Regions from separate parts of the Homo sapiens genome. Here regions 1, 3 and 4 are each linked to region 2. The links are contacts of gene promoters, found by promoter capture Hi-C in human tissues and cell types (Jung and others, 2019). All regions are on one chromosome and are shown on one strand. The core of a region is centred on a gene start or on the middle of the fragment in contact, and the rest is flanking DNA. Distances in the headings are between cores, read along the strand shown.

Region 1 (2,753 bases), core at 239-2,738, 1.2 Mb before region 2:
TCTTGCTCTGTCACCCAGGCTGGAATGCAGTGGCACGATCTCCGCTCACTGCAACCTCTGCCTCCCGGTTCAAGCAGTTCTCCTGCCTCAGCCTCCCGAGTAGCTGGGATTACAGGCGCCCACCATCACGCCCAGCTAATTTTTGTATTTCTAGTAGAGACAGGTTTTCACCATGTTGTCCAGGCTGGTCTTGAACTTCTGGCCTCAAATGATCCGCCTGCCTCAGCCTCCCAAAGTGCTGGGATTAAGGCGTGAGCCACCACACCCAGCATCATTAAAGGACCTTAAACAGACAAGTGACATGCAGAGGTTTTTTTTGTATTTTAGAAAGTTTATTTTGTTTATTTTGGAAGAATGGTATGGAAAGGGTCCAAGTGACAGAGAGACCTGTTAAGCTTTTAACTAGGAGGGAAATGATTAGGCAGTAACAGTGGGTGGGAATGGAAAAGGATGCTGGGTATGAGTAACAGTTAGAAATGAGACTCTATAAGATCTGATATGTCAGTGAAGGAAGAATTTAAGGTATCTCCAGCTTCTCACCTGGGCACTTAGAACAGTAGCACTATTTTTTGAGATAGAGAATTCAGGAGGAGGAGGAGAAGAAATGTCTTGTTATCTATTACTGCACAACAAGCCACCCCAGGCTGGGTATGGTGGCCCAGGCCTATAATGCCAGCACTTTGGGAGGCCAAGGTGGGAGGATTGCTTGAGCCCAGGAGCTCAAGATTAGCTTGGGCAACATAGCGAGACCCTGTCTCTATAAAAAAAAGCAAAAAACAAAAAACAAACAAACAAACAAACAAACTTGGAAGCTTAAAAACAACAACCTATATTTATTTATGACCCTGCAGGGATGGCCTGACTCTTTCATGTAGCACTGGCTGGGACAGTTTGAGTACAGCTGAAAAATATCCTCCTTCACAGGGCTGGCAGGCAGTGCCACTGCCATTGGGAGCTGAGTTATGACTGTTAGCCAGTGGGCCCCATTCTCCTTATGAAGGCCTCTCCACATAGCTGCTCGGGTTTCCCCACAACGTGGCATCTGTTTGAAGAAGGAAGACTCCAAGAGGTGAAGATGGAAACTATACATCTCTTAATGCCTGGCCTCAAAAGTTACACAGTCTGCCATTTTTCAAAGCCTGTCACAGGCCAGCCCAGATTCAATGGGAACAGAAATAGCCTTCCATCTCTTGATGGGTAGAGTGGCAAAGAATACACAGCCATTTTCAATCCACCATAAGAACATTTGAAGAAAAAGATGAAAATTTCAGGTGGGACATGTTGAGTTTGAGGTACCTGAGTGACATCAATGTAGAGACATCAAGAAGTAGGCAAGTCAGCGCACAGGTCTGGTGATCAGAGGAGAGCACTAGCTTTGATAGACATTTGGTCACTTGGTAGACATAAATAGTAGTTAGAATTATGCGTTATCCAAAGAGTGTGTGAAGAGAGTGAATGGCAGGAGACAAGATGCAAGCTTTTAGTACAATAGATATTTAGAGGTCAAGTAGAGAAAAAGTCTTCATGAAATGAAGACTAGGAAGCAAGACCTAGAGAAACAGAAAGAAGACAGAAGAGAAAGTGGCCATAGAAGCCCAGCAGAGAGTTGGAGGAGACACTGTTCAATAATTTCAAATGTCATAAAGAGGTCAAGTAGGCCAGGTGCAGTGGCTCACGCCTTAATCTCAGCACTTTGGGAGGCGAAGGCAGGTGGATCACTTGAGCCCAGGAGTTCCAGACCAGCCTAGGCAACATGGCGAAATCCTGTCTCTACAAAAAATACAAAATTTAGCCATGTGTGGTGATGTGTGCCTATGGCACTAGCTACTAGGGAGGCTGAGATGGGAGAATCACCCGAGCCCCAGTAGGGCAAGGCTACAGTGAGCCGTCATTGCACCACTGCACTCCAGCCTGGGCGACAGAGTGAGACTCTATCTAAATAAATAAATAGGTCAAGTAATATTAGAAACATGAAAATGTCGACTGGTCTTGGCAATACAGAGGTCTTTGGTGAGCTTATGAAGGCATTTCTAATGTAGGAATGAGGATAGAGTTTTAAATTTTTTGTTCAAGGATGCAAATATTGCTGAATGAAGCAAAAGATTTGTTGCCTGGAATTTAATATCTTTACAACTCTTTGTTCTTTTAGAGTCATTCGGATTCCTTTCGGTTGCTCAAATATAACATTGTATCTGCTTCTAAATTCATGGGCAACAATTGTCCTCTTCTGGTTCAAAGGCACAATATAATCCCAGGAATTTTTTTGGTATGTGCTTTGAGATATAATGACTCTTTTGACTGGGCTGTTGTGTATGATGTTTGCATGACTTGGGGATTATTCATAGGGTCAACAGAAGGCTACCAAAATAGCTCAGCTTAAATCACAACCTTGGGATAACCCTTGACTTCAGGTCTTCTTATAACTGCAGATTTAACACTGTTGCATTATCTTTACTGTTACTCTAATGAATTTAAAAATTGAATACTCTGTTAAAACTGAGGTGGCCGGCCGGGCGCGGTGGCGCACGCCTGTAATCCCAGCACTTTGGGAGGCCGAGGCGGGAGGATCACGAGGTCAGGAGATCGAGACCATCCCGGCTAAAACGGTGAAACCCCGTCTCTACTAAAAATACAAAAAATTAGCCGGGCGTAGTGGCGGGCGCCTGTAGTCCCAGCTACTTGGGAGGCTGAGGCAGGAGAATGGCGTGAACCCGGGAGGCGGAGCTTGCAGTGAGCCGAGATCCCGCCACTGC
Region 2 (2,700 bases), core at 73-2,572:
CACTCCCGCCCAGACGTCCAGGGCCTCCACTAGGCTGGAGGAGAGGAGCAGGCGGCGGCCGTCGGGGTGGCCGTGGCCGCAGTCGAGGGATGCCTGGCCCTGGAACAGCACCTCGGTGCTCTGCGCGATGCGCGCCATGCTGGGCCAGCCGGTGGCAGCGCCGCTCGTGTAGTTGTAGGGGTAGTAGGGGAAGTAGATGCTGCCGTTCCAGAGAAAGGCGTCCACGAAGTGCAGGCTGCCCGCGCCCTCGCACAGCTTGAGGCGCCCCAGCTCCTGCGTGGCCAGGCTGCGCCCCTCCGTGTCCTTGAGCGCGATGGCCGTGTCGTGGTCGGATGCCGCGGGGTTGCAGCGGCTCGCCGTCTCCGGCTCAGGCAGCACGTAGGTGGCGGCCACCGCCAGGTACCAGCGGTTGTTCCGGCCCGCGCGGTACACCACGCCGGCCGTCGAGCCCTGCGGGTGGCACGACACCACCTCGGTGCCGTTGCGCAGGGAGTTGCGGCTCAGGTTGCCCAGGGGCCGCACCTCGCAGGCGCCCCGGTCGAAGGTCCAGCCGGTGAGCAGCAGCCCCCCGAGGCCGGCCGCCCCCTCGCGGTAGGGCAGCAGCAGCTTGCTGAAGCTGCTCCCGGGCCGGGGCCGCGCGGGGGGCGCCAGCGAGACCGGCTCTGTGCAGTTGCCCGCTTGGTCCCGGTACAGGCGCGAGAGGCTGTGCTCCAGGCTGTAGTCCAGCTGGTCCAGGCAGCTGCCGCTCGCCACAAACACGCCGTCCTCCTGGCTCGCCGCGATGGCTCCGATGGCTTGCTCCGACCGCCACACGGGCTCGTCCGCGCCCCGGCCGGGAGCCGCCAGTGCCAGCAGATAGGCGAGCAGGGGCAGTGGCGCTGCGGGGCGCGGGGGGCGCGGCGGCGCCTTCCTCCGGGAGACCTCCATGGGGCTGGGGGGGCCGCCCCCGGGCAGGGCGCGCGGCGGCGACGGCGGCTCAGGCGCGCGGCAACGGAGACGCGGGCGGCGGCGGCGGCGGTTCCTGCGCGCGCTCGGGCTCCCGCGGCCGCCCCATCCCCGCAGCTCGCCCAGGAAGGAGAGCGGGGAGGGCGGCGCGCGGCAGGCTCGCTCCGGCAGCCTGTGCAGCGGCGGTGGCGGCAGCAAGCCCTGCGCGCTCCGGCACCGTTTCCTCCTCGCCCTCCTTCGCCGGAGAGTTCCTGTGTGCAGCGCTGGCGCTCGCGGGGAGGCGCGGAGGGGAAGGGAGGGGACGGGCGGAGAGGAGCGAGGCGGGCGGGGAGGGCTGGAGAGGTTGGGTGCGCTTGTGCGTTTCACTTTCCCATTGTGAAAGTGGGATGCAACTGGCCCCCTTCCTCATCCTCTCTTCCTCCTCCGCCCTCCGCCTCCTGCCCGCCCGCCCGCCCTCCCTCCACGCCCATCTCCCCTCCCCTCTTGATTCGGTGAGATAGGGAGGAGGGAGGTCTCGTAATTTGGGTTACTGTGTAGGTGGCCTCTTTCATCTATTCATAACAAAGCTCAGCCGCCCGCCGCGGCCGCCGCGGCCGCCACCATCGCCCCCTTGGCTCGCCTGGGGCTCCCGGGGCGCGCTAACGGCGCACGGAGCGGGCTCCCGCGCCCGTCCGCCCGCGGTGCTGCTCCAACGCCCGGTTTTGTTTACGACAGCAGCCGGGTCGGGGATACGCCAGGCGCGCGGAGCGAGGATCCAGGGTGCGAAGGGGTTGCAGCTGAGGCCCCGGGCTCGGGCCACAGGGCTGCTGCGAGAGCGGCTGACAGGTGTGGAGCGGCGAGAGGGAGGCCCCGGGGAGGCGCGCGGGAGACATGGCCGAGCCGGAGACTCCGGGGACCAAGGCGCCCCTGTGACAGGGTGTGGGTTTCCCCGGGTCGGATGAGTGAGGTGGCAGAAAGGCAGGCGCCACACTCTCGTTCTGGACAATCCCCAGGGCCGGAGCGCCCATATTTGCAAAGGTTCTCTAATCTCCCTTGGCAACAGAGTCCCAGGCTCTCAAGCCTAGCACTTGGAAAGTTCTGCTCACCATCTAACCTAATGAGCGGGGCTAACATTTACTGAGCACTTACTACGTGCCGGGTGCGCTTGTGAACTCACCACATGGGTTAAGACTCATAATTCTCATAACAGCCCTATTAATTAGTGACTGTTATTGTCATCCCTACTTAGTAGTCCAGGAGAATGGTTATAGAAAGGTTGTGGAACGTGCTGGCATTCTACTGCTGGTAGATATCAGAGCCGAGATTCGAATCCATATCTAGCCCCAGGGCCTCTTACATACCTGGCTCTAGTTAAGTGCCACCTGTGGCCATTGCCATAATCCCCCAGAGATCATTCTCTGTAGTGAGACTGAAAAGTTCCTCAAGTTAAATGCACCAACCAGCCCCCGCCCTGCTTTCTACTATTAGACCCAAGTCCCCGTATTTCCCTCGAGGCTCTCCATCTGTCTCATCATTACCCACTTTTATCCTTTGGACCCCCTGAGGTCTCACCACCTCACCCAGAGGGTGAATAACAGCTGGGTTGCCCCCACAGCCGCCAAGAATTTCTGAAGCACAGGGAATCATTGCCCACTGGGGAATAGGTTCATGATTTCTCGGAATGGGGCTTCCCAGAGGATGCACAAATGCCTCCCAGCTTCCCGGGGCAGCTGCGGGCACCATCAGCACCCTTACAGTCTGGCAGATGAGCCAGGG
Region 3 (2,700 bases), core at 95-2,594, 1.4 Mb before region 2:
TATTTTATCTTGGGTTGGACTTGGAGGCTGGAGTTCAGGCTTTAACCGATTTCTAAATTGACTACTAAATCATAAACAAAGCTACTCGACCACTTATTTTCTTAGGGAGAATGCCTCTGCAGGTACTAAAAAATGAGAGTTAATGCATGAAATATTTTCTGTAGGTTTTGCAGTACTTTTGACTAAGGGCTGGAGGGATATAATAATGAGGATAGTCTTGTTGCTAACTAAAAGTCAGAGTGTTAACTTTTCTTAAAGACACACTTCAAAAAGCAGATCGTATGTTTACTGGTTTACTTCAGTTAATTTCGTTAAAGAAATAGGGTACCTAATGAACTGGGGGATCATAGATATTTGGAACAAACACTGCGTTCAAGTTTAACACACAAAACTCACTTATTTTCTGCCTTCTAGGATAGTCTAGTTCTAGCAAAAGTGATTGGATTGAGATTTTATTTTTTACTCCCCCCAACACCTTTTTTTTTTGTGAGATGGAGTCTCGCTCTGTCGCCCAGGCTGGAGTGCAGTGGGACGATCTCAGCTCACTGCAACCTCTGCCTCCCGGGTTCAAGCAATTCTCCTGCCTCAGCCTCCCAAGTAGTTGGGACTACAGGCACATGCCACCATGCCTGGATAATTTTTTGTATTTTCAGTAGAGACGGGGTTTCACCATGTTAGCCAGGATGGTCTCAATCTCCTGACCTTGTGATGCGCCTGCCTCGGCCTCCCAAAGTGGTGGGATTACAGGCATGAGCCACCACACCCAGCCTTACTTCCCCTTTTGATACTTACTGTTGAACAAAGAATGAAACTCCAACTCCCCACCCCCACCCAACACAGCCCAAACAGAAAAAGAGAGGTGAGGACAAGAAGCCCAATAATCCACCAGGGTAACTCAACACTGAGCTACCAAAAACTACCAAGTTAATTGTACACTATTGGCTTTTTTTTTTTTTTTTTTTTTTTTTTTTTGAGACAGAGTCTCACTCTTTCCCCTGGGCTAGAGTACAGCAGCATGATCTCGGCTCACTGCAACCTCCGCCTCCCAAGTAGCTGGGATTGCAGGTGTGCACCACCACGCCTGGCTAATTTTTGTATTTTTAGTAGAGACGGGGTTTCACCATGTTGGCCAGGCTGGTCTTGAACTCCTGGCCTTAAGTGATCTGTCAGCCTTGGTCTCCCAAAGTGCCGGGTTTACAGGCGTGAGCCACCATGCCCGACCCAATTTGCCTTTTAATACAGATTGAGGGCCGGGCGCGGTGGCTCACGCTTGTAATCCCAGCACTTTGGGAGGCCGAGGCGGGTGGATCACGAGGTCAGGAGATCGAGACCACGGTGAAACCCCGTCTCTACTAAAAATAAAAAAAAAAAATTAGCCGGGCGTGGTGGCGGGTGCCTGTAGTCCCAGCTACTCGGAGAGGCTGAGGCAGGAGAATGGCGTGAACCCGGGAGGCGGAGCTTGCAGTGAGCCGAGACTGCGCCACTGTACTCCAGCCTGGGTGACAGAGCGAGACTCCATCTCAAAAAAAAAAAAAAAAAAAAAAAAATACAGATTGAGTATACCTTGTCTGAAATGCTCGGGACCATAAGTGTTTTGAATTTTGGATTTTTTTGCATAGACATTATGAGGTATTGTAAGGATGGGACCCAGGTTTAGACATGAAATTCATTTGCTTCATATACACCTTGTACACATAGCCTAAATATTTTATACAACACTTTAAATAATGAAACAGTTTCATTAACAGAGTGCATATAACAAAGTTTGTACATTGAGCAATCAGCAAACAAAGGTGTCACTATCTCAGCCACTCATATGGACAGTCTGGTGGTTTGGCATCACCATAATTCCTGGCTGATTTTTATATGCTAATATAAGCAGTCATTAGCATACTTATGTGCATGTAATGTACATAAGTGCATTATGCTTATGTGCCCATAAGTTTCACAGTAAAAAATATTAATACAGTGGAAAAAAATGTGTTCAGGGTTACTTATGACATCATGTTGGCACAAAAAGTTTTGGTTTGGAATTTTTTTTTTTAAGACAGTCCCTCTATCACCCAGGCTTGAGGGCAAGCTGCGCCATCCTTGCTCACTGCAACCTCTGCCTCCCAGGTTCAAGCCATTCTCTTGCTTCAGCCTCCTGAGTAGCTGGGAATTCAGGTGTGCACCACCACGCCTGGCGAATTTTTGTATTTTTAGTAGAGACAGGTTTCACCATGTTGGCCAGGCTGGTCTCTAACTCCTGGCCTCAGGTGATCTGCCTGCCTCGGCCTTCCAAAGTGCTAGGATTACAGGCATGAGCCACCATGCCTGGCCAGATTTTGGAATTAGGGATGATCATCCTGTATGATTAGTGGCAAAAGCATTAACTGGTAGATTTACACAAAGAATAAATAGTGTCAGGTACTCTAATCAGTCACATGCTGTGAAAAACTTAAGCTACTTTTAGAATAAAGGTAGATAATTCCAGGGTAACACTGCCCAATCTATATTTCTCATTAAAGAAAAATGAATTGGCTAGAAAATTATTTTCCCTTCAGAAAAAGCTTCTCACTCAATGCCTTTCATACTAGAATTTTCTAAAGTCCCTTCATAAATGTATTTCTGTGCTTCACTCTAGGGTTCTGGGTACACTGCAATGATTCCAAACTAAGCATGTGCACTATGGATGAAGTATGCAAGGCTCAAGCTTAT
Region 4 (2,745 bases), core at 244-2,743, 1.2 Mb after region 2:
CCTCCCTTTAGAACTCACAGGCTGTTTGGGAGGTGAACATTTAAAAGTAATGACAGTGCTATGTAATAGAATAATGAAGAGGACAGAGGACCCAGGAGGCACTCTGTGGGAGGTGAGGGCAATTAGGAAAAGCTTCAGGGACGGGGGCATATTCACAGCTCAGAAGAGGGAAGGGCATGTCAGGCAGAGGGAACAGCAAATGCAAAGAGATGGAGTCATAAAAGGCGCAGGTAGTACTGTGAGGAGTGTGAACAATGAAGCTTAGGAAGTGAGATGGTCTGTAGCAATTAGTAAGAGATGAAGCTACCGTGGTGGCTAGAGACCAAATTGTGAGAGGACGTAAGAGTCCCTTTGAAGGAGTTCAGCTTTTATCTTGTAGTTGGGTCAGTGTTAATGCTGAGTATTTAATAGGGACATTTTGATAAATGTCTTAAATCTGGTGATTTACTAGTTTAGAAGGTAGAATATATATTTTATTAACTCTACAAGTGGTATTTACCAACAAGTATAACTTGAATCTTTAAATTGTGTAACATGGCAACCTATTTTACCCCTCCCTGCTAATCTTATTTCTCAGCACAGATATTAAGCTATAAGATTAAAGCTATTGTTAATTTAGAGATTTATTTGAAATGGACTCTGTGCTTTGAAATTATGTGGCATTCCTTGGCTGGGTGCAGTGGCTCATTCCTGTAATCCCAGCACTTTGGGAGGCCGAGACGGGCGGATCACCTGAGGTCGGGAGTTCGAGACCAGCCTGACCAACATGGAGAAACCCTGACTCTACTAAAAATACAAAATTAGCCGGGAGTGGTGGTGCATGCCTATAATCCCAGCGACTCAGGAGGCTGAGGTAGGAGAATCACTTGAACCCGGGAGGTGGAGATTGCAGTGAGCTGAGATTGCTCCATTGCACTCCAGCCTGAGCAACAAGACCGGAACTCCGTCTAAAAAAAAAAAAAAAATTATGTGGCATTCCTTTAGCATTTTGTTTTTAGATGAACTTTTCATTTTAACTATTCTTATTTTCTTCTGAATAGTTTCCTTTAAATAGCATTTTTTAAAAGAAGAAACAGACAAACTGCTTACCATCAATTAGAACTCAAAGTGTTTGAACATCATCAATAAGTCTCAGGATACTTTACGGAAATTTGGTTTCTGGTTCTCCTGCTTTTGTCCCTCCTCCTGCTCCTCCTTTTTCATTAGCTTACTAAGGTGTTTCTCTGAGGCTTGAAAGAAGCTGGAAAACAAAAACAAAAAAACCTCAAAACAAAACCAAAGTGAAGTAGCTCCAATATGTATGTATTGAATATTTTACTTAATAGTCCTTCAAAGAAAAACATGAATTTAAAGTACTTGATGGTTAGAAATTTAATCAACGTTTAGTACCTTAGGCAGCTTGTAAACCTTGTTGCCATTTCTTTCTTAAGTATTATAACTTACTGTGGGCTGGCTTAGTGGCTCATGCCTGTAATTCCATCACTTTGGGAAGCCGAGGCGTGCAGATCACTGAGATCAGGAGTTCGAGACCAGCTTGGTCAATGTGGTGAAACCCCGTCACTACCAAAAAATACAAAAATTAGCCGGGCATCGTGGTGCACGCCTGTAGTCCCAACTACTTGGGAGACTGAGGTGGGAGAATTGCTTGAACCTGGGAGGCAGAGGTTGCAGTGAGCCAAGATCGTGCCACTGCACTCCAGCAACAGAGTGAGACCCTGTGTTAAAAACAAAACAAAACAAAACAAAAAAACTGTGATTAGTGTTTTTTTTTTTTTTTTTGAGACATCTTTTGTGGGCCAACTGTGTGCTGTGCAGACAATGATGGGTAAAGTAGTCATGAATTTTTTGTGGAGTTTAGCGTCCAGTGGAAGAGAGAGGAATTGTTCAGAGATTCATACAACTATACTCTTGAATGAGTTCTAGGAAGGACAAACTCAGGATGCCCCAAGAACACCCAGCAAGAGGGCCCTGGTTTTAGATGTTGGGAAGGCTTCCCAGATTAGTTGCCCATCTAAGTTTGATGAAAGTATTGCTAATTTATTGAAGTGAATTTTAAAAAGTGACAGCTAATGGAATGATTTTCTTTTTGAGTAGTTTTTTTTTTTTTTTTTTTTTTTTTTAGCATGTTAGGAATAAAGAAGAGATTAAGATATTAAAGAACCAGGACTAGAACTAAGAATAAAGAAGACGTTAAGAAATGAAAAGAACCAGGGCTAGTACTCAATTTTCTTCTCTAATTCCAGTGGCCTTTTGCTTGAGCTAAAGAAATAATGTAATTTAGTAGTTAAGAACATGAACTCTGATGCCAGACTACCTGGGTTTGTATCCTGTTTCATTTACTATCTGTGTAGTTTTGGAGAAGTTACTTCTCTGTGTCTCAGTAAAATAGTTGTAATAATACTAGCCTCCTTATAAAGTTGAGAACTAGATAACTAATATGTATAAAAGTCTCAGCCAGGCGCGGTGGCTCATGCCTGTAATCCCAGCACTTTGGGAGGCTGAGGTGGGTGGATCACCTGAGGTCAGGAGTTTGAGACCAGCCTGGCCAACATAGTGAAACCCCGTCTCTACTAAAAATAGAAAAAATTAGCTGGGCGTGGTGGCGGGCACCTGTAATCCCAGCTATTAGGGAAGCTGAGGCAGGGGAACTGCTTGAACCTGGGAGGCTGAGATTGCAGTGAGCCGAGATTGTGCCATTGCACTCTCCAGCCTGGGCAACAAGCAAAACTCCATCCCAAAAAAAAA

Evidence for each region. The method cuts DNA at HindIII sites, captures the fragments that hold promoters and counts their contacts. A contact is called where the count stands out against the background at its distance.
Region 1: a fragment that was not itself captured here is called in contact with the fragment with the promoter of PLXNC1 in region 2 in 1 of the 25 tissues and cell types used here (heart right ventricle).
Region 3: a contact is called between a fragment that was not itself captured here and the fragment with the promoter of PLXNC1 in region 2, in 1 of the 25 tissues and cell types used here (psoas muscle).
Region 4: a contact is called between a fragment that was not itself captured here and the fragment with the promoter of PLXNC1 in region 2, in 1 of the 25 tissues and cell types used here (aorta).

Annotation. Positions count from the first base shown.
Region 1 is chr12:95,339,886-95,342,638 of GRCh38, reverse strand. LOC105369917 (a long non-coding RNA gene) reads left to right here. Exons shown (of 11, transcript XR_001749265.1): 10 at 2,150-2,266. Among named protein-coding and RNA genes, the nearest start is that of MIR3685, 31 kb to the right of the region's middle. The HindIII fragment of the contact is 3,015 bases long and covers 1-2,753 here.
Region 2 is chr12:94,147,199-94,149,898 of GRCh38, reverse strand. It overlaps PLXNC1 (plexin C1), which reads right to left and starts at 1,322. Exons shown (of 31, transcript NM_005761.3): 1 at 1-1,322. The coding sequence starts at 927. RefSeq lists an enhancer at 196-295 and silencers at 496-735, 866-1,095, 1,166-1,415, 1,426-1,555. The HindIII fragment of the contact is 12,817 bases long and covers 1-2,700 here.
Region 3 is chr12:95,518,280-95,520,979 of GRCh38, reverse strand. USP44 (ubiquitin specific peptidase 44) reads left to right here. Exons shown (of 6, transcript NM_032147.5): 6 at 2,627-2,700. Among named protein-coding and RNA genes, the nearest start is that of USP44, 32 kb to the left of the region's middle. RefSeq lists a silencer at 1,720-1,920. The HindIII fragment of the contact is 8,001 bases long and covers 1-2,700 here.
Region 4 is chr12:92,924,216-92,926,960 of GRCh38, reverse strand. All of the region lies in intron 1 of EEA1 (early endosome antigen 1), which reads left to right. Among named protein-coding and RNA genes, the nearest start is that of EEA1, 3.7 kb to the left of the region's middle. The HindIII fragment of the contact is 4,849 bases long and covers 1-2,745 here.